7 separate regions of the Homo sapiens genome follow, and all the other regions are linked to region 1. The links are contacts of gene promoters, found by promoter capture Hi-C in blood cells and fetal thymus (Javierre and others, 2016). All regions are on one chromosome and are shown on one strand. Each heading gives the region's core, a stretch centred on a gene start or on the middle of the fragment in contact. The rest is flanking DNA. Distances are from core to core; before and after follow the strand shown.

Region 1 (3,057 bases), core at 323-2,822:
AGGCGGGTGGATCATAAGGTCAGGAGATCAAGACCATCCTGGCTAACATGGTGAAACCCCGTCTCTACTAAAAGTTCAAAAAAATTAACCGGGCGTGATGGCGGGTGCCTGTAGTCTCAGCTACTAGGGAGGCTGAGGCCGGGGAATGGCGTGAACCCGGGAGGCGGAGCTTGCAGTGAGCCGAGATCATGCCACTGCACTCCAGCCTGGGTGACTGAGCAAGACTGTCTCAAAAAAACAAACAAAAAAAAAAAAACAAAAAAAACAAATGTGAACTTTATGAGAGCTGAACTATGTCTCAATAAAGCGACAATTTTTAAATGCAATGGGAGGTCAGTGTGGGGAGTAATTGTGACTAAGGGGCAGGGCTGGCATATGTAATGCGTCTGCTGGCATTAAGCACAACTTGTGGATTCTAAGCACTTTCTTAAAATGAAAGAATGAGTGAAGAAAACAAATCACTGGATTTACTGTTCACTTCCAGGCTATCATATCCATCCTGGCTATGAAGGATGTACACTGAGTTTCTACGTTCTGAAACTGTTATTACTTAGGCACAGTCCACAGAAAGATCAGTCTGAAAACTCAGGGACCGGGAGCTCCGTGCAACATGGCTTTCAAGATCCTAGAAACTCTCGCTCTGTGTTCCCACCACCCTGGGCTGTTTCTTCATCCCATGGGTCCTTCTGTATTTATTTGTCCTTTGCACTGTGATGATTTGGAGGCAGTGACTACGCCTTTTATCTCTGTATCCCTAGAACCAGCAGCACATAGAAGGGACTTGCCAGGTGACTGCGGAAGAAGGGAGGAAGTCGCTATTAGCTTATGAGGAGCTTATAGTCTAAGTTTCAAGCTTTCTCATTTCTCCATTTTCTTATCACGTACAGTGATTACACTAAAAATACTCTGGTACCCTAGTGCTGGTTTTTTGTTTTTTGTTTTTTGGTTTTTTTTTTAGGTCAAAATGGGTCACACAGTGGCAATTTCATATGACTCAATCTAACACAAAGTCACTAGAAAGAATGTCTTTCGGGTCCCATTTCATGATACAAAATGGTTTTTAAACGTCGTTCCCTGAAGATCCTTTGGGGAGCACCAACAGAGAGATAATGGGGAGTGATTCTGATCCCCAACTGTCCCCTTCCCCCCCAAATTTTTAGAGTTTCTATGTAAGAGTTGGTTTGAACAAAAGACTTGTGTCTAAAAATTAGTTTGTAACTAATTTATTTATAGTATTTATAACTCTAGATAACTTAGATATTGATTAAGAAAATATCCCCCAAAACATGTTCTTTAGATCAAGGAAATAAAAAGTAATGCTTAAGCTTTTTGTTTCAGTTCATTGGAAAGCTACAGTGCTTACACATTTTTATGCTGTCTACCATCAGTGCATCTAGGGAAGGGCATCTATGGATGAGGCTACCATGTGGGAAATTCTTGAGTGGGCAGTGAGAGAGGGTTAGCAACTCAAAGCAAGTAATCCAAGGGTTAATCAGGAGAGACACTCAATCCAGAAAGTGCTCATTAACCCAAGCCTTTCTGCATAGTGTCCCTACCACCCTGCTGCCTCTAACTAAACAAAACACGGTAGGTCTCAGTGTGAGAGAGCGCTTTTGTTCACATAGGAGGCTGACAGCTATTTGCGATGAGGGGTTTTTGTTTGTTTGTTTGTTATTCAAATAACTTTTTTCCCCCTGAGGAAACTGAAAGGGAAAATGTCAGAAGTATGTGATTAATGATTTTTTAAAATAGATGGGATCTCCCCGGTTGAATTGAAAAGTAGGTACTGAAAAAGAATCCATTTCTAAATGGTAGATTTTCATATGTAAGTTTGATATTAATTCTTTCAAAAGAGTTGTGCCTGTGAGTCAGATAAATGACAGGAAGGTCTGTCTAAATACCAGCATCCTCGGAAGGGCAGCTGTTCAGAAACATTCTCAAATCATGAAGATAAATAGAACCGGAACACTGATGATTCCATCAACTGATGGTGAGGGAAACATCCAATTCTATCTTAACCTCCAAGCTGTGCGGTATTACGGTGCTTCCTAAAATGCTTTTAAATAAATACACAAAAAAGCCCGTGTTTGCTGGGGATGGGGGAAGTTGGTGATTGGGTTTGGGGGGCACAGGGAAGAGAAGTAGAGAGGAAAAACATACACCAAAATCTATGTTCCTTTTTTAAGGTTCCTTTTAATCAGATCTTAAAGCAAAGACAGAAGCTGAAAACATTTCTAGTAAATAAAAAGCAAAGAACTCTGAATGCTTAGCCGACCAGAACCCCGGAAGGAGCCCGCCTGGTACTGCCAGGCATGACTGCCTTTAGTGGATTTAACAATAAAAAAGAAGATGGCGCCAAATGACCAAACTACATGCGACTTTCCCTTCCCGCAAGAAAAGTGAATAAAACTTTCCACTGGGGCTGGGGGAGGAGGCAAGGGACCAGTCCAGAGAGATAAAATGCTACTTAACAAAACAATGTGGATAGCATTTAGGCCACATGTAAATTTCATCCACAGAGCTTGCAAATGGCATGCAATTTACTGCTCAGAGGATGTAACCTATTTGAGTCTAGAGAGCTAATTAATAACACAGTCTAAAAAGAACGCAGAGTTAATCGCCATCCATCTCCTGGGCTATTTTAACTTGTTTTTTTGACAGTTGCTGTTAAACAAAATTCTAAATATTGTTATAGCAGTCAGTTATTAGTTACCTTAACAAGATGCAAGTTTGGTGTTGGTCAAAGTTAAATCCTTTTAAAAAAAATACTTGAAAAAGTTGAAGCTGCTCTCCTCTTTAGAGCTTGTTCTGTGATGGATAAAAATTGCATCTATAAAGGTTTCAAGTCAGGTCACATTTAGAAAGTAATAGTAAATAACAGTAACTGGTAAACACAGTCCTAAGTCTTACTTGCAATTGCTCAAGTTGAAACAATTGAATACAGTCTTCAAAAATCATACTCTCATTTACAGATATGACTGGGCACATGGGATTTCAATCATGCTCCTTCATTGCTGAGAATCATGGAATTAAAATGGTAATAATTTTTACCTCTCA
Region 2 (3,057 bases), core at 400-2,899, 870 kb before region 1:
CTGGCAGCCCCCATCCCCCTACCTGTCACTGTGGCTTTACCCGTGCTGGGTGTTCTGGATCAGTGGATGCATGTCACATGTGCCCCATGTGTCTGGCCCCTCTGAGTGAGGATAATATTTGCAGATTGATCGTGGGGCAGCATCCATCAGTGCATTCATTCACTAGGGTTGCTACAACCAAGTGCCACAGACCGGGTGGCTTCAACAACAGAACTTTCTCACAGTTCTAGTGGTTCAGAAGTCCAAGATCAGGGGCCGGCAGGGTTGGTTTCTCTGGAAGCCTCTGCTTGGCTTGATTTATATAAGTAAGATTGTGTGGAGTCTGCTTGCAATTCAAGGCAAGTAACGCTTTGACTTGCTTTCTTTTTTAGCACATGGCAGTGGGGGCCCAGGCAGGGGAACGGGAGCTCTTTTTTTGGGGTTGTTAGGAGTTTGAACTCTGGAGTCAAGAAACCACCCAAGTTTAAGGCTGTGCCTTTTCTTTTTTCTTTTCTTTTTTTTCTTTTTTTTTTTTTGAGACATTGTCTCGCTGTGTTGCCCAGGCTGGAGTGCAGTCGCGTGATCTCAGCTCACTGCAACCTCCGCCTCCTGGGTTCAAGTGATTCTCGTGCCTCAGCCTCCCAAGTAGCTGGGATTACCGGCATGCACCACCATGCCTGGCTAATTTTTGTATTTTTAGTAGAGACGGGGTTTTACTATGTTGGCTGGGCTGGTCTCAAACTCGTGACCTCAGGTGATCTGCCTGCCTTGGCCTCCCAAAGTGTTGGAATTACAGGCGTGAGCCACCACACCTGGCCTCATGTGCCTCTCTTACCAGTGGTGTGACTTTGGGTGAGTTGCCTGTGCTGTCTGTCCCAGTGTCCTCTGAGTGCTGTGAAGGTGGGTGAAGTATATTTGGTGAATCACAGGTACTGCGTGAGGTGCCAGGCATGATCCTTGCTGGTGCCAGGTTTGAAGAAAATGGTGTTTGTGCAAGGAAAAATTTTTTTTTCTGTGCAAAACTAAGGTGTATTTATGAAAATGGAAATCAAGTCTTAGCCCTTCACCGAGCTTAGTTGTAGAGAATATCTAGGGTAGTTTCTGTCGGGGTCCACACAGGCAGTGGACAGGGGCTTGCCGTTTTATAGAAGAATAAAATTTCACAACTTCTGTGTACTTCCAGTAATTTGAGCTTTAGGTTGAAGCTTGCGAGGTAGGCAAGGTAAGAGTTTCTGTCCCTATTTAGAGGCACCTAAACCCCAGTGAGGCAAAGTGAGTCACCCAGGAGCTGCCTGGAATCTGGTCCTTTCGAACCCACTGTTGGGCACAGCCTCCTCCGGGGCATGCAGACTCTGCCGCATGACCTTTGAGCAGAGTTAATGATTTCCTATTTGTTTTATTTCATTCAAAACAACTGTCATTGCTTGAACCCACCCATGCTGGGCACTTGTATACTCCCAGGGGATCCCACTCCCCCACTCTGGGAAGTGCCAGGGTCTCACTGGACAGAGAAGGAGATCCAGGATGAGAGGTTCAGTCATTTGCCAAGGTCGTGAGCCCCAGCCCCCCACTGAGCAGCACCTCTGCCCCTCCAGGGTCCTGGGTTGGAGGTGTGAAGGGCATCCCGGGCCCTCCCACTGCTGGGTTCTTCTAAGTACAGGAATGTCTGCTGCACACATCTTCTGAAGATAGCATTCTCTTGATCTGAGAAGGGAACCAGTACCACTTGCTGGGTGTTTAGCCAGCACTGCACATTTCAGAATCTCATCCTGGTGTTAATAGCCCCAGGTAAGACAAGGCCACATGTCCAGGAAAGCCTTCTGTGGGAAGACACTGCATTAAGATAGCTCAAAATCGGGGTGAAGAGGCAGGAGGCAGGGCTTACCATCTTCATCCATCAACTATTAACTTTATGATAGAAACCATTTCAGTGTTATTTTTGTTTGCTATGGATCTATACAGAATTGCATTATTTTAATGCTTTATTGAGAAATAATTCACATACCATACAGTTCACCACCATTACCAAGTCAGATGTAAGCAGCTCTCTGGGGCTGTTCCTAATATGGAAGTGTTGCTTATACCAGAAAATGATAACCAAAATGAAATATAACACAACGTTCAAGGAAAGCTTGTAGATAATCATTGGTAAAATAATAGCAATGGAGCTGGAAATACTGAAATGGAGAGGTTAAAATGCCCGGGGCGGGGGTATTGCTGCTTGATGAGACTTAGGAGGGCGTAGCCACAAGCTTCACCATGAATGTAGTCAGGAGCCGGGGGAAGAGGCACGTGTTCCTGGGCTGTGTGGATGAGTGGTCTAGGAGGCGTGCTTGTGATGAAATGACAGCCCACCAGCCCACTATCCCAGGCCCTGGAGGAGATGCGGGGTGCGCAGCCTGGGCTGTCAGAGATGTTCACAATTGCAAAGATTCTGACCCATATTTTGCCCCACACATCCGTCTTGCTAGAGCATGTGTCCTGGTTCTTTAGAAAATCACTCCGTTGTACTTTAGGACACCATGTCCTAGGAACACACTGACACCAAAAACCTTGGCCAAGAGTCAGAAAAACAAAGCTAGATTATGTGAGGGAATGGAAATGTCCAGAATAAAACCTGGGGAGGCTAAAGGGATCGCGTGGAGCTCAGTGACAGCAGAGCTGCAAAGCTGCAACCCTCCTCAGCCAGGAGTGGCCCCAGTGAAAGCAATGGATACAAGCCCACAGGGCACGTTCCCAGCGCAGCCCTCAGGGCCTGGGAGGGCCACACAGCTCCCACGGATGCTCACTCCCTGTCCATTCCCTGTTGGCCCTGGAAGTAGACTTGAGTTAAGCTCCTGGGTAAAGGGCTAAGAAGGGAGAATATGAAGAGACTTCTAGCCATATTCACTCAAATAGGAGAGAGGAACAGACGGGCCTGTGTGGCAAAGAAGAAAAGGCTTAATGTTTATGGAGCAGCAACACGCTGCAGAAAAGCGAGTCAGATCCTGGGGGATCAAAGGACTTTGTTCAGATGCTGCTGTTGAGGAAGGGCTTCTCCCCAAAATAATTCAGCTTTTTTGATTTACAGACAAAATT
Region 3 (3,057 bases), core at 176-2,675, 850 kb before region 1:
TGTGTTATTCCAGCAGGCTTCGCTTTGCTTACAAAATACAAAGACAAAATCGGGAATTTCAGGATAGTGGCAGCTTCTGAGTGCCAGTTCCATGGCACATGCCAGGCAGGCAGGCAGCCCAGGGTGTGCTTAATAAACCCTGAGGGCACCTTCTAGATTCAGGAGGCCACGGCAGATGTGACTGGAGCCTGGTATGAGGGCAGCCCAGGCCACTGGCTGCCTGGGGCCCTGGAGTGCTTGGGGGCAGTGAGGGGGTGCCCTCCTCCAGGGGCCCTGGGACGTGGAGGTCAGGAAGGAGGTCAGGAAGGGACGTGAAGGCTCTGCTGCCCTTGCCTGGGTCGCCTTGTGTGTGAGTCACTTCACCTCTGCCCCAGCTTCCCCATCTGCAAAAGGGGGGAGAAGCTGGGAGTGAAGCGGCCTCACCATGTGGTTTGGAGCACCAGGTGAAGAATGTAAGTAAAGCACTTGGCATGGGGTGGGCATGGAGTCAGGGCTCTCCCTTGGGGGTGGCGTTGATCCCCCGTGAGCCACAGGTAGGTCCGGCAAGTGGAGCCAGGTTCCTGAGGCCGTGCCTGCAGGTTGGCCCTGTGTGACGAGGTTGACGGCATCTCCAGTGTTGGGCCGCTGGCCGCCTGCCCAGCATGTGTTCCTGGCTCTGCCTCCTGCTGCCGCCTCCGCTGCGCCTTCTGAGTGTCACACCAGGAGGCAGCAGGGGCTGGCAGCACCTCCGCTCCTGCTGCCGTGCCTGGAATTTGGGGCCATGGCCCTGGCCGGTTCTCCATCCTGCCTGTTTGCATAGAGCTCGTTCCCTGGCCTGGCATCTTGGGATTTTCCAGTGATTCCTTTCCATACTTGAAGCAGACATGGGGATGCAGGGGATGGTCATGTCTGCGTTGTTGGTCACTGAACATTTTAAAGGTGGCAACACAATTGCCTTTAAAGTGATATGGCATGAAAAAAATCGTTATTTATATTTGGCATGGCCAAAGAGTAAAAACTCAAGGGATGGTTGCTGAGGAGCATTCAGGAGGCCTGGGGTGGCATCAGGGACCAAGTGTCCGTTTGATTTCACAGACCCGTAAGTGTTCAGTGTCTTGAGCGAACTGTGAAGAGGAGACCCTGGCCTCTGATTTCAAAGGCGCCAGCGTTTTACCGGGGCCGGTGCAGATAATGGAAGAAAGGTGTTTTGCCAGGGACTTTTCCGGGGTATGCAGTGGGGCTGGTGAGGGGTCTGCCTTAGCAGGAAGCCCTTGCCTTTGCTGTAAAGAAACTAGCAAGCGACAAAACGAAAGCATCAAAGAGCCAACAGGATGCGGCCCGAGCCCTCCCTGGCACGTTGCCCCGAGCCGCGCGGGGAAGAGTGACCTTAGGGCCCGCCTCGCGCACACAGGCCAGGCACAGGTTGAAAGTTCAAGGCATTTTGTTTTTTCACCTGTTTCCTACAGTTCTAAGAAACTTCTGAAGAATTAATGTGTAACTATATCAGACACTCGGCGTTTTCTCCAGGGAAAATAATGTTACAGTGGGGGAGGGAGGGGAAGTGGCTACTTGATGAGACACAAGAAGGTTTCCATAAAGTAAGAAAAACCCTCTCTAGGGGAAACGTGCACAACATCGCATGTGACTCTTACTCCATCTCCACCATGTAGAATGGCTGCGTTTGCTCAGGGCTGGCACAGTGTGGGGCTGCTGGTGGTCACAGAAGGACTAGAGCAGCAGTTGGTGTCCTTGAAACCAGTGTACAGCCGTGATCACCATGCCCTTCGTGAGTCTGGTGGGCCCAGGATCTGCTGGGGCCAATTTTGACACGAGGTATTGAATGACAAAAGCAAATTAATGCAGCAAATGTAAAGATAGAGATAAGCTCTTTGCCATGCCACCTTCTGGACCAGGAGTTTATGATTCTGATACTATTTCTCCCTGGCCAGTGGCAGAGCCCCTCTGGCAGGGGCCTGAGCTTCATGCTACCCAAGTCTAAATCATTTTACTTTTTTCTAACAAAGTCTTAACTTGCCAACTGGCAGTATGCATTGTTACTGGCTTGATATATCATGTGGAGAAAACAGATGCTTTGACATGATGACATACAGATTTTACTAACATTTCCTCCTGTCATGAAATTTTCATATAAAGATGAATATTTTCTTGAGGCACCATTTATAAAGGTGGTTTTTATGTTAGAAGCTGGTGTTGGCCAGGCGTGCTGGCTCATGCCTGCAATCTAGCACTTTGGGAGGCCGAGGTGGGCGGATCACAAGGTCAAGAGTTTGAGACCAGCCTGGCCAATATGGTGAAACCCCATCTCTACTAAAAATACAAAAATTAGCCAGGCGTGGTGGTGGGCACCTATAGTCCCAGCTACTCAGGAGGCTGAGGCAGGAGAACTGCTTGAACCTGGGAGGCGGAGGTTGCAGTGAGCCGAGATCGCGCCACTGCACTCCAGCCTGGGTGACAGAGCGACACTCCGTCTCAAAAAAAAAAAAAAAAAAAAAAAAAAAAGCTGGTGTCTTTTTAAAATCCTTTTGTAAATTAGTTTAAGAAGAGTTAAACACTAGCCCTTTCCTTGTTCGGTTCACCTGGTCTGCGTATGCATGCTTTTAAACGTGTACCAGGCATATGAAGTGGTTGTGATTTGTAAACTATCATCATAAACTCTTAAATCCTGCCTTTTACACTCTTGCCACCAGGTGGCTAAGAAAAAAGAAATCAAGAAAAAAATCTAACAGTTATGCAAAGGACTCGTAATCACTTTCAAGTTCTGCTTCAGTGGTGAAATATGAAACTATAGACGGACTGCGTTTCAAGAAGGAGAACTGCTGAATAAGTGACAGGCATTTCAGGCAGCGCCCGACCAGATGGACAGCTCATGAGTCTTCTTATTTTCTCAAATATTGGCAATGGGAAACCAGATTTTGCTGATCTAAAGCTTTTGGAGACTCTCTGAGCCTGTTCCACCTCCATGCTGTCCCCTGGATGCCGCTATTGTCCGGACCAGTTAGCTTTGGGACAGAGGTTCAGCTTTGGCCTCTTGGATTTCCAGAGTGGAGGATGCCTGAA
Region 4 (3,057 bases), core at 294-2,793, 830 kb before region 1:
AAGGCTTGAGAGAAACCTCGGCCCATTTACTCAGCAGATTTTCGCATGTCGTGGGGGCCCGAGTGTCACCCAGCATTGCTCTGTGCTGAAGAGCTGCAGACACCTCCAGCTGATGATGAATTGTGAGTGATGGGAATCAAATCCCGTAAAGCCAGCTGCTTGCCATGGTCGGCAAAATGACTCTAATGGATATAGGCTGCCAATTTTCCAGTTTTACTGGCAAGTCTTCCAAGTGTAATTAAGGGAAGTTATAAATGATATGGAAATCTATCAAGTTCCATTTATTTTCAGAGGACTCTTTCCCCAGAGACTTTTATCTTCAAGCTTATAGTATGCTTTGTTGTGCTAATGATTTAAACCACTTCTTATTTCTGATTAAAGCCCCCAATATCCTTCTACCAAGTTCTCTTCACTCCTTCCACAAAGATTAAAAGACAGAGAACCTTCTCCCGCACATGCCCCCTCTCAGAAAACATGCTAAGACAGGGACACATTTGGCAATGCCGATCATTCAAACTGCAGACTGCCATGACCACGAAGAACGCTCAAAGAAAGTGCAGGAAGAAAAAGAAGAGAACGGGGGAAAAAAGACCACCAAACATAAAAGGAAGCCCCCACAAGCACAGGCTTGAAAGCGGTGCTCAAGACCAGATATTCATCAGAAGGTGGTGTAGCTCACTAATGTTATTTGATTTGGAATAAAAGCATGAAAATGATGGCAAAGGCCTAAAATTGGAGATGTAAAGGATGACTGCACAGTATTCCATTTCTCAATTTCATCCTTCAGAGCCACAAAATGGGGGTGATACAGTGAGTGGATGAGATTTACAGTAACAGCTGTGGTCTCCCACACAAGGGAGGCCCTTCTAATGGGCTGAGGTCTGTTTGGAACAGACGGGGAGTAACAAAACAAGGTTCCCTATTAAGAGTGTGCAGTCGTATTTCTGATAAAGAAAATGACGAGGGAGTCAGGTCTCCTTTAAGACAGCCCATCCTCTTTTTGTTGCCCAAACCCAGGGCTGTTTTAAAGGTGTTATCGTTGAAATAGAGGCCAGGGGACGTTCACAGCATCGAGCCGCCCCGCCCCCCAGGAAGCCCACTCTCTAGCAACTGTAAGGAATGCAGAGGAAACGGTGCCAGTGGCATATGGCTTTCCACTGTGCTAAACATTCATACAAAAGACAGGTTCATCAGTCATTGGAGTATCTGGATAAAAAATTAGCTCCTGATGGATGGTATTTTGAGCTTACCTGCTGCTAGTACATTACCAGAGAAACACAGGTTTTGAAACCCACATGACATTAGAAACTGCAGACCATGAAATACGACACGTGCAGGAGCACACAATGTACGCCAGATTATACAAAATAATAAATAAGCTATTTAAACCCTCTGCCTAAAATTGGGCCCGCTGCAAGGAACCCTGGGTCACTTCTACGCAGGCCAATTAATGCACAGCATCTGCTGTACAGAAGCAGGGCATGAAGCACTTCCGAATGATTTCGGCAATTAAAAGAAAACTGTTTCCTGCCTGTTCAGACCGCAACTGTTTCGATGCAAGAGTGAGCACCAAATCACTGCGTGCAGCTGAAAAATTAAGTCCCCTTTTTGGGGAAGAAGGGTGGGTGGGAGGAAGAATTTTTATGGAAAAAGGAGGCTTCTTTTGTTGTCCTACATTCTGTGTTTTTCTGCCAAATTAGACAGAAGGCTCGGAGGGCTTACCAGCCCGCTGCAGTTTCCACTTCTGCAACGCCGGACCACCGGAAAAACACGGATCAATATCAGCCCTGGTGTCTACGCCACAAAAGTGAAAATCCCACCATTTCATTGTTAAAGGCTGGTCTGCTTGGAACACAGGTGCCTGAATGCCACACATTTTAAGGCCCTTAGATCTGAAGAAAGGTTCAGTTAACAGTCACAAAAAAAGGCATCTCAGATTGAGTGAAAAGGCACTGCCTGCTCGCATCTGATTATATTAATAGCAACTTCCTCTGAGCCGGTAAGATAGGCTGGTAAATATCCCCTGATATTTCCTGAAGAAGAAACGTGTATTCACATCCCAACATCTTCATGTAAAGCGAGACGGGGAGGAGGCCACGGGAGACTGCAGTATTTGAGCAAGGATGGAACCATCATCAAATTACAAAGACAGACCAGGCGGGCAGGAGACGCCGCCCAGCCCTTTCTCCGGCTGAAGACTCCTTTAATGGCCCATGCACGAGCGGCCTCACTCTGGAGGGCGCGGGAACCCAGGGGCCACCCGTCCAGCCCCGCTGCCGGCTCGGGACTTCAGGCACACGTGCCGTCTGCCTGGTGCTCCCCTTGTCTCTCAAGTGGGGCTCCCCAGAACTGGGCAGCACCCAAGGGGCTAAGGGTAAGAGTACAGACTTGTGGCCGATATAAAACAAGTCCAGTTTCTTTTAAAATTCCTTAAAATGAAGAAAAATATGACTCCCTGCTGCCCTCTAAGTTAGCTCAAAATCAGAGCCAAAGCCTGCAGTTACAAAGAGAACTAGTGGAAACTGATGTCATTCACAATACCTTTGGAAATTAGCCTGGACCCTCTACCTTCGTAAAGCATGCTGCCTGAAAGCGCTCCGTGAAAGGATGATTTTTTGTAAACTTTTATTTTTATTAAAAGAGAAAAAGATAGTTTACATCTTGGTAAGGCTGAGAATGGTCACTTATAAAAATGTTGAAAACAAAGAAAACACCTTCTACTCCCAAGCAGATCACTCCTGAAAAATCAAACGCCAAGCTTGGAGAAGACTCTCCTATAATATTTAATATACTGATCCACATAAATATTTTTTATTTTATAATTATCATTGAGTATATTCAACTGTAAAAATTCCCAGTACTAATAGATATTTTTTTACCTCCTCATCTTTTTCTGCCTCCTCTTATCTACTAATAGATATTTGTTACCTCCAACAAAAACCAACTCTTTTTTTTTTTTTTTTTTTTTTTGAGACGGAGTCTCGCTCTGTCGCCCAGGCTGGAGTGCTGTGGCGCGATCTCCGCTCACTGCAAGCTCCGCCTTCCGGGTTCACGCCA
Region 5 (3,057 bases), core at 399-2,898, 810 kb before region 1:
TAACTCATGAAATAAGACTAGGAGACATTTCCCTTGCATCTGTATAATCCAGAAACCAGGAATACTGAGTACCAGCCATTCTGTGCCGCTCTGCTCTCCTCTTGGTTAAAAATATACAGTACACACAGCCAGGGTGAGGTGGGATGAGAGGGTGCCCGTTCAGCAGGGACATCTACCCTGGCCTCTACCTTAGTGAAATCTGCCTGGATCAGGGGGCTGGGCCTCTGTTTCACAGGCTTAGAAGCTAGACTTCCACTATACACTCATAATGCATCACTCTGAACGAGATGGATTCACTTTTATCAAGCTCACAAGATACTGATGTGTAAAACATCTTAGGAATTTACAATCAGAAATAGGTTTGTAAAGGGAACTCACACACCTCCTAACTGTAGTGTGAGCACTAAATTATAGTCAGTGGTTCTTTGATAAATACAGAATCAGCAGAAGAGGCACTGGCTGAAGTGCTCTCCACCAAGACAGCATAAGCAGCAGTTCTCAATCACCAAAGCATCAAAACTTGCCTGGAGGGCTAGTAAAACCACAGACCGCTAGGCCCCCCACCTGAGTTTCCAATTCAGGTTTGGGTGCATTTTATTTATTTATTTATTTATTTATTTATTGAGAAGGAGTGTCCCTCTGTTGCCCAGGCTGGAGTGCAGCGGCACGATCTCAGCTCAGCCCAACCTCCGCCACCCGGGTTCAAGTGATTTTCCTGCCTCAGCCTCCCAAGTAGCTGGGATTACAGGTATGCGCCACCATGCCCGGCTAATTTTTTTGTATTTTTAGTAGAGACGGGGTTTCACTATGTTGGCCAGGCTGGCCTCAAACTCCTGACCTCGTGAGCCACCCGCCTCGGCCTCCCAAAGTGCTGGGATTACAGGCGTGAGCTGCCACACTGGGCCTGGGGTCTGCATTTCTAGTGAGTTCCCAGGAGACGCTGAAGCTGCTGGTCTGAGGACCACACTGTGGGTGAACAGAAGGCCTTCTCCATTATGGAATGGCCTTTCCCAGGGAATTTAGCTCATGTCCATGAGAAGGCTTTCTTCTCCTAGACTCAGCTGACAATGCGCTGCTGGAGAAGGCTTTTCTGATAGTAGACAATGGAGACTCAGAAGGGTGACGGGGTGGGAGGAGGGTGGATGATGAGAAATTACTTAATGGGTACCATGTACATTAGTCAGGTGATGAATATCTAAAAGCCTTGACTTCCTCTCTATTCAATCTATGCATGTCACAAATTTACACTTGTACCTCGTAAGTTTACATAGATAAAATAATTTCAAAAAGTATGTATGACTCTTGTTCTAGGTAGAAAAATCTCTGAGTGACACATTTTTTCTTTTTTTTAAGAGTCTCACTCTGTTGCTCAGGTTGGAATGCAGTGGCATGATCTTGGCGATCTTGGCTCACTGCAACCTCCGCCTCCCAGGTTCAAGCAATTGTCCTGCCTCAGCCTCCCGAGTAGCTGGGACTACAGGCACCCACCACCACACCCGGCTAATTTTTGTATTTTTAGTAGAAACGGGGTTTCACCATATTGGCCAGGCTGGTCTCAAACTCGTGACCTTGTGATCTACCCGCCTCGGCCTCCCAAAGTGCTGGGATTACAGGCGTGAGCCACTGCGCCCAGCTAAAGAAACATCTTTAAAGTATCTTTTGCATAAATTCAGTCTTGCTTATTTGATGTCTCAAGATTTGGGGAGTGTTTTGGTGTCTACAGTTACTACCCCATTAATTTTTCTCTGGCCTCAATGTTGCTGTCCCTAAATTGGATCAAATATATTCTTAGAAGGGTGAGATTAGGAAAGGAACTCGTTAATATAGACTGAAGGCCTCTCTAGTCTGTAAGTAACCTTAATATTCTGAGACTGGAGAATACCACCGTGCTCACTATCTTCTGGGAGAGAGGTTCTCTTTAAATGTTTACAGATTTCAGATGAGCTGAAACCAGCCTTAACTGCTCAATATTTGGGCAACTGGGGACTGTTCGTTTGATCTTTTGGTTTATTAAAAACTATGGGGAAGCTAACAAGTCTTAGAAAATTTAGCAAGGTAACTTTAAATGGAATGCACATGTTATTATTACATGAACTAATTAGTATAAATTCCTTGAAAAGAAACTTTAATATTAAAACATATATAAATATATCCTTAAGGAGAGTTCTGGTCTCAACAAATAATAACAAAATATAAGCGCCAGACCACCACTGCCCTTGGTCTGGTGTCTGCAAGAGGAAATGACACACTGAAGAGCTGGACTTTCATTTGACTTTCAACCGTACTACAATCTTACTAGAATGTGGAGAGCCTGGTGATTCCATCCATTTTAACACTGATCGCCTCAATCTGAAGACAGTCTCAGGGGAAAATGGACTGAGCCACAATTGTTTAGCTTTTTTCCTGGGTGGTAAGTAAGATTCCATTCTTGCCCAATTTCTTACTTCAATTAGATTCAGAGGTAGAATAGTCTAAAGATAGATTCCAAATACTATCTCTCTCATCTTTAAAAAAAGAAAAAATGAATCTGTTATTCCTTTTCCCCAAACGACAGAAGCATGATTTCATTGTATTTTCCTTCAAAACTGTGGCCAATAAAATGCTAGCACCTCCAAAAAAAGTCTCAAGCAACCTGTGAATTAGAAACACAAGAAATATTTTTTCCTTTGCTTCTCCTATGTTATTTTGAAAACTGTGAAAGAAAAAACCTTTTTAAAATGTCAAATATACTTGTCTTGCTTACATTCAGATGTATGCAAAGTTCACTGAGGCGTAGGTCTTATTTTTGTCACTAGACATAATGGGACAGATGTGCTTCTGCAACAGAGGTACGGATGCAGCATGCAGCAGTCTATCCCAGAAGCTCTGTAAACAAACACTCTTTATCCCAAGGAGGCAGGATATGAAAGGCTGGAACCGCCTTAATAAGACACTACTTGTCCCAACATAAAAGTCTGTCTTGAGGCATCCTACTACAGTCTTGCCTATTACTCTGCTGATTAAAGGAGGTTGACTAGAGCCATGTGGGCTAGAAGGAGTGAGGCCTGGACCAGAAGA
Region 6 (3,057 bases), core at 281-2,780, 770 kb before region 1:
TTTAAACACAAGGCACCAAATTCTTCCCTGGTCAAGTTTGGTGTTGGTGATTCGCAAGATTCTTCAAGGAAACAGATGTTTTTAAGCACCCTGCCACCACAAGGTACACATTTAAGTATGTGCTTTCTATTCCATATTCACTTACAAAACATTAACTATGTTAAGGGGTCATAACCAGGGGATTAACACAAATTTGGTTTTTCAAATAAAAGGGAACAATATTTTCCCTCTGGATTTTTCTGTAGGCCAAGCACCAAATTGAAGACTCGGTGGAGACTATCACTTCAGATGATAGCATGTCTCCAAGCAAGACAAATGAAAGGGAAAATGAAGCAAAGGGAGAGTGGGGAGCTACAATAAAAACCGAGCTATTCTTTGCCAAGTGCCTGCTATTTTCAGGCATTTTACAAACGTTTTCTTTTTCAGCCCTTGCCATCTCCATAAAAGCAGATAATATCTATTCTGTTGATGAAAAAATTGAGGACCAGGGAGGTTAGGCAACCTGTTCAAATTCACAAAGCTAAGAGACAGGTGATCTGCGATTCAAATGCAGGAAGACAAACTCTACTTATTCCTCCCCCACCCCTGCCCGATCCTGTTCACTAGCAATCTGGCAGTGGTTCGTGGTAATTTCCTGTGAACACATAACTTGTAATCTCAAATATTTTAAATGGAAAACACTGCAAGAAGTATTCCATGTCTAATTTTTACCACTCACTCTAAGGTGTGCTATGGCTTATTCATCTTAGCAATTGAATGGAATCAAGTAAGCTGACATATGTAGAATCATTCTAAAGCCCTAAAGCACCATACACGCGTAAGGCATTATTTATAAATATTAATTTTACTTTGAAGATCTTTGGCAGGTGGCAACAGATCCTGAGATACTTTGAAATAACTTAGTGATACCCTAGGATACTGTGAAATCATAACTGAGGTTACAATGAACTGGCTTCTAATAGTATATATAAATGATTTCAATAATAAACATGTCATCATTTTGTAAGTGACTCCATTAGAGAGGACAAGCCTCCACCTTAGCTGTGGGCATTTCCTGGAGCTCCATTCTGGGCCTGGCCTCTGCTTTGCCATTGTCCCTTTGGCAGGTTCATCTACTGCATGGCTTAGGACCTCACCTCTGCTGGGGCATCAACTTACGTGCTCACTCTTAATCTTCTTCTTGCTCTCCAGACCAGAAATTTCCCTTATATCATAGATGTCTCTTGGCATTTCAAACTTAAATTGGTTAAATCCATCTTTTTAATAGAGTCCACCTTTTCTCTGGTACAATTCTTCTCTTCTTCCTGTTTTTCCTCCCTAACTGCATCAGTTATCACCTCTAGAAATCTCAGAATTATCTTCAATTCTGCCCAATACATAGAATTGTACACTGGATTCTAAAGAAGTGGCTCTCAAATGTACCCTCTTCTTTCTTTGCCTACTCCCATAAGTTGTCAAAAAAAAAAAAAAAAAAAAAAACCACACCAATAAAACCAACCACCTCTGATGAGATTATGATTCTTCTTTCAACTCCTTCAATGAACCTCAGAATCTAGGGAATGCCACCCAACCTCCTTGGAATGGTCTTGTGTCATCTTGCCCCCAACAGACTAATTTCATCTTCCAAAGGGATCTTTGTTGCCCTGCCCATCACCCTCATAAGCCAATCTGCTCTTCCTTAAACACTTGGGACATCTTAATACCTCTGCGCCTTTATTAATTTCATTCCGTCCTCTTTCTCCATCATCAGTACAGAGTGCAGTTTCTACAACCTGCTATCTCCAGGCTCACTGTTCCCTCTATCTGAAATGCCTTCTCCTGCAAACTCAATTCATCCTTAAAGTCACAGCATGAGCTATAAACACTGAAAAACTGTTCACAATTTCTCCACTTTCTTCACCTCAGCCCCAGAATCCCTCTACTTCGTATACACCTCTGTTAGCGTTCTTATCACGGTAATCAGTCATTTACATTTCTCTATCCTTAGGTGACAATGGGCCCAATGACTGCAGGGATATTTGTTTCCTTTGAATTGCCAGAATTCAGTGTCTGTCACCAGTGTAAGATGACTGACTGACTCTCATGACTACCATTAAATGCTAGGTTTTGTGCTCATTTTCAAAAAGTAATGTCTAATAAGATATGAAATACAGTTCTTCTTTTCCCTGTGTTTATTGAGGTGTACTTGACAAATAAAATGCAAATTCTTAACCAGAGACCTACGCCCTATGGACTGTACTGTTTATCAATAAAAGAAACAAATAATAAAGCTAACAGATCTACAATTCGCTCTGCTACTATATAAGCCTATGCATTACCCATCTCAGCACTGATACCATGTTTGCATGGTATCAGTTTGTCTGTCTTCACCAGCCAGTGTGCTACTTAAGGGTAGGGACCAAGTCATGTTCAACTAACCCACTTCCTAGCACATAGTATAGCAGGCAGGCAATGATTTCTTTTAAATTTTTGTTCAGAATGCATCACACTGCAATACTAATAACCAAACTTTTATATTATATAGAGCATGCCAATTTCAAAAGAATAAAAACGTAGTTATATTCCAAAAGTTCATTCTTAGCTTGGTTACATGGCACACAGAACACACATTACCACAGAAACAATGTTCAAGATTAAGACTACATTTATATTCCATTTCATAAAATCTTATTCTACCCATATTTTGCCTGAAATTTTGTATATTTAGGGGCAAATGCAGGAAGGAATGCTATAGATTTTCTTAGCACTGTAAAATATATCTGAACATCAGAAAACTTCATCACCCCTCCACAAAGTGTCTGCTCTGTGACCGCCACCTGCTTCCTATTGTTGGACTAGAAAAGGGTCAGGAATACAAAGAGTGTGACCGAGCAGGGAGGAAGCCCTGTGGAGTTGAGGGTAAACAGACTAGAAAGGCTCTGGTTTCTATGCCAGATACTTTCTATCCGTTTCTCTTTTCCCCTCCAGAGAAAGTGGGGACCAATGCAGCTTGGGTAGGCAGGTAACTGCCAAGAGCCAACTCAGCCAGATGACCCACCAAACCACAGCACAAGCAGA
Region 7 (3,057 bases), core at 252-2,751, 560 kb before region 1:
TAGAGAGAAAGACAAAGACTAGAGTTAGCGACAGTTTGGATGTGGAAGATAAGGGGATGAATGAAGGAAGATTCTAGGAGCTTAGGAGATTTTCCATTTAGTTATGGATTCCAAGTTAAAAAGAATTATCTTTTTTGACCAACTGATAATGTCACATTTACCTACTCAAGACACAATAAATAACCTTACTTTTCAAGCAAAACCCAAGCCACACATGGTAGCACAACCTGGTAACTTAAAAGCTGATAAAATGACACCCTATTGATGCAACAGTGGTACGCTGTATAATAAAGAATCTTATGTGGTTTTCTCACCTACAATTTCTTGAATTAAAATTTCATAGAATATACTAATGGGAAAGGAAAAATAAAAAGAAGGGAAAAGAAAAGTATTTCTTAGAAAATGTCTTATTCCTAATCCAGCGGTACTAATCAGAAATCTCTCATGAATCAAGGAGATGTGATGGGGAATGGGGATCTTCTTTAAATAACCAATTGCAAAACACCTATAATTAACTACAAGGCCTTTGTTTCCTCAAGGAAAGGTCCAAGGTAAAAAGAAAACAAAAGATATTTCAGGAAGTTGAACAGTCCTCTAGATGGATAGAATAGGCCCTGATATGGGTAATAGGACCTCAGAAGAGAAAAGACACCCCACTCCGAGAAAGAACTAGGACAGAAAGGAAGGAAATCCCCAGATGAAAGTTGCTCATGAGAATTACATAGATAGTACGCATTGCTTTGTTTCGTTTCTTTGTGCTCCTCTAATGTAAAGTAGTTCACTTGCCTTTTGAACCCCCTCAGCCTCCCCAGAAGGGAAAGTGTGGGTTTGTGTTTGTTGTTTTGTGCTGATGGCGGGGGGAGTTCTTCATGACCATGATATTTCTGAAGAACCCAGGGTGGTTGTTTGATAGAATATTCCACAATTTGAATATACCTGATTATTCACTCATTAAATTCAAGATGTTTAACAAATCTTAAATACAACATAGTTGATATTGTATCCTCGAGTTCTTCCATCGCATCAAAAGTAAAATAAAAAGTCAATTTATCCCAAACTGATAAAGCTTGATTACTTAAGATGGCATCCATTAAATTTCCTCACAGAAAGTATGCCATTTTTTCTTAGCAAATAATCTGTAGATTGATACTTTGAAACTGTGATGATCCTATATCCAAACAATTTTCACCCATTATTAAAAATGAACTTTAATGATTCTTGCTTTAGTCAATATCTACATTGTTCACTGCACAATGATTAAAAAAACATAAAGACAAAGATCTTTGCCTGTCTTCTTTGTTGTTTCTGCAGTGGCTGAAACTGCCTAAAGAATAACATGCAAAGTAAGAGTTACTAAGTAAATCTATTAGTTAATCTGAGCAGCTGTAAGTCATTATTTTTACTGCTGTAATCTATGTCACCTACAAACATACTGCAGCATTATCCATTCCACTGTGAATGAACATTCAGACTGTAACCTGTTCTATTTATATAACAATGGTCCTTTGAATATTTTTGTACTTGTTGTCTGGAACTTTGTATATGAGCTTCCTGGATCTATGTGTAAGAGCACAACTGCTGGATAGTATGAAACTCTTATAAATTCTTTATTTAAAAAGATCAAATCTATTCACTTTTCTTTATCTCAGTTATCATAATACTTAATCATAATACTTACACAAACTACCAGCAGTCCAGGACTCTTGTACTGGCCTACTAGCAGAACTCCCCACTACTACAGTTGCCCCCATCCAAGCCACATAGTGGTCAGTGAAATTTTCTTAAGGTATATATACTATTATATCTCTCTCCTGCCTACATCTTTCATGGGTTTACATTATACTACGAAAAAACCATAGACGTATAATGAAATAGAAATTATGAACCAAAGGACAGGAAGTGTGACGGGTAGAGAGACAGCATAATACAAGCTTGTTTAATCAGAACACGAGAAAGGACTATGCTAGACTTGCCCTAAGAAAACTTTTTTAAAGCCTAAAAGGCCTTAACCTAAACAAAATTAATGTACCTGCCAGACTAAACATCTATACCTTTTAAATAAAGGTAACAAAATCCAAACACACAATGTAACATTTACAATGTCTAGAATCCAATCAACAATTAAGAGATAGGTAAAGATGCAAAATGTGATTCATATCAGAAGGAAAATAGCTGACAGAAAGAAACCCAGAAATGAAGACTCTTAAAACAGTTGTTACAAATACTATTATAAGTTACAGCTATTACAAACAGGTAAAATGATTTGGAGAAAAAAATAAACATGATGAGATAAATAAGAAAAAAGCAAACATTTTAAAATTAAGTTTTTAGATATTAAAATGACTAAAAAATCCAATAATATATAAAAAGAATTATATACCATGACCAAATGGGATTTAATCCTGGTATGCAAAGCTGATTCAACATCCAAAAATCAATTAATGTAATCCATCACATTAACAGGCTAAAGAAGAAAAATCCTATGATCATATAAATAGATGCAGAAAAAGCATTTAACAAAAATCAACAATCACTGAGTTTAGCAAACTAGGAATAAAGAGAAATTTCTTGTACTTGATAAAGAATATACACAAAAAGCCTACAGTTAACATTACACTTAATGACAAGAAACTGGATGCCTTCTCCCAAAAATCAGGAAAAATACAAGAATGTCCCCTCTTACAACTCTTATTCAACATCTGACTGCAGATTCCAGCTTATGAAGTATGTTAAGAAAAGGAAATAAAGAGTAAACAGACTGGAAAGGAATAAATAGAACTGTCTTCACTAGTGGATAAGATGACTGTCTATGAAGGAATTCCAAAAAAATCAGCAATAACAACAAAATTCTTGGAACTGATAAGCAATTATAGTAAGGTTACAGAATACAAATTAATATACAAAAGATTATCACATTCCTATATACCAGCAGTGAACAACTGGAATTTGAAATTAAAATAGTGACATTTACATTAGCACTAAAGAAATAAAATAGGCATGAATCTTAAAATACATACAGTGTATCTATGAGGAAAACTACAAAACTCTGACGAAAGA

The links. Contacts are between HindIII fragments. The CHiCAGO score rates a contact against its expected background, and 5 or more counts as called.
Region 2: a fragment that was not itself captured here is called in contact with the fragment with the promoter of CLYBL-AS2 in region 1 in 7 of 17 cell types (non-activated CD4 T cells, M1 macrophages, M0 macrophages and 4 more); the score reaches 6.2 in non-activated CD4 T cells.
Region 3: a contact is called between a fragment that was not itself captured here and the fragment with the promoter of CLYBL-AS2 in region 1, in 7 of 17 cell types (total CD8 T cells, naive CD8 T cells, megakaryocytes and 4 more). The highest score is 7.6, in total CD8 T cells.
Region 4: a fragment that was not itself captured here is called in contact with the fragment with the promoter of CLYBL-AS2 in region 1 in 6 of 17 cell types (non-activated CD4 T cells, total CD8 T cells, activated CD4 T cells and 3 more); the score reaches 6.7 in non-activated CD4 T cells.
Region 5: a contact is called between a fragment that was not itself captured here and the fragment with the promoter of CLYBL-AS2 in region 1, in 5 of 17 cell types (non-activated CD4 T cells, activated CD4 T cells, total CD4 T cells and 2 more). The highest score is 7.3, in non-activated CD4 T cells.
Region 6: a fragment that was not itself captured here is called in contact with the fragment with the promoter of CLYBL-AS2 in region 1 in 1 of 17 cell types (total CD4 T cells); the score reaches 6.1 in total CD4 T cells.
Region 7: a fragment that was not itself captured here is called in contact with the fragment with the promoter of CLYBL-AS2 in region 1 in 6 of 17 cell types (total CD4 T cells, total CD8 T cells, activated CD4 T cells and 3 more); the score reaches 6.0 in total CD4 T cells.

What each region holds. Positions count from the first base shown.
Region 1 is chr13:99,689,486-99,692,542 of GRCh38, reverse strand. It overlaps CLYBL-AS2 (CLYBL antisense RNA 2), which reads left to right and starts at 1,572. Exons shown (of 2, transcript NR_046526.1): 1 at 1,572-1,990; 2 at 2,187-2,445. The region is part of intron 1 of CLYBL (citramalyl-CoA lyase); the gene reads right to left. It overlaps LOC124903199 (a long non-coding RNA gene), which reads right to left. Exons shown (of 2, transcript XR_007063848.1): 2 at 2,174-3,057. RefSeq lists an enhancer at 1-393 and a silencer at 1,434-1,728. The HindIII fragment of the contact is 1,922 bases long and covers 1,328-3,057 here.
Region 2 is chr13:100,560,254-100,563,310 of GRCh38, reverse strand. All of the region lies in intron 2 of GGACT (gamma-glutamylamine cyclotransferase), which reads left to right. Among named protein-coding and RNA genes, the nearest start is that of GGACT, 27 kb to the left of the region's middle. The HindIII fragment of the contact is 926 bases long and covers 1,187-2,112 here.
Region 3 is chr13:100,542,640-100,545,696 of GRCh38, reverse strand. All of the region lies in intron 2 of GGACT (gamma-glutamylamine cyclotransferase), which reads left to right. Among named protein-coding and RNA genes, the nearest start is that of GGACT, 45 kb to the left of the region's middle. RefSeq lists enhancers at 1-477, 478-1,201, 2,632-2,811. The HindIII fragment of the contact is 3,006 bases long and covers 1-2,928 here.
Region 4 is chr13:100,520,548-100,523,604 of GRCh38, reverse strand. All of the region lies in intron 22 of PCCA (propionyl-CoA carboxylase subunit alpha), which reads right to left. Among named protein-coding and RNA genes, the nearest start is that of PCCA-AS1, 41 kb to the right of the region's middle. The HindIII fragment of the contact is 2,434 bases long and covers 327-2,760 here.
Region 5 is chr13:100,499,440-100,502,496 of GRCh38, reverse strand. The region is part of intron 21 of PCCA (propionyl-CoA carboxylase subunit alpha); the gene reads right to left. Among named protein-coding and RNA genes, the nearest start is that of PCCA-AS1, 20 kb to the right of the region's middle. RefSeq lists an enhancer at 1-4. The HindIII fragment of the contact is 3,536 bases long and covers 1-3,057 here.
Region 6 is chr13:100,461,759-100,464,815 of GRCh38, reverse strand. All of the region lies in intron 21 of PCCA (propionyl-CoA carboxylase subunit alpha), which reads right to left. PCCA-AS1 (PCCA antisense RNA 1) reads left to right here. Exons shown (of 5, transcript NR_047686.1): 5 at 246-379. Among named protein-coding and RNA genes, the nearest start is that of PCCA-AS1, 18 kb to the left of the region's middle. The HindIII fragment of the contact is 4,063 bases long and covers 1-3,057 here.
Region 7 is chr13:100,249,744-100,252,800 of GRCh38, reverse strand. The region is part of intron 8 of PCCA (propionyl-CoA carboxylase subunit alpha); the gene reads right to left. Among named protein-coding and RNA genes, the nearest start is that of PCCA, 160 kb to the right of the region's middle. The HindIII fragment of the contact is 865 bases long and covers 1,069-1,933 here.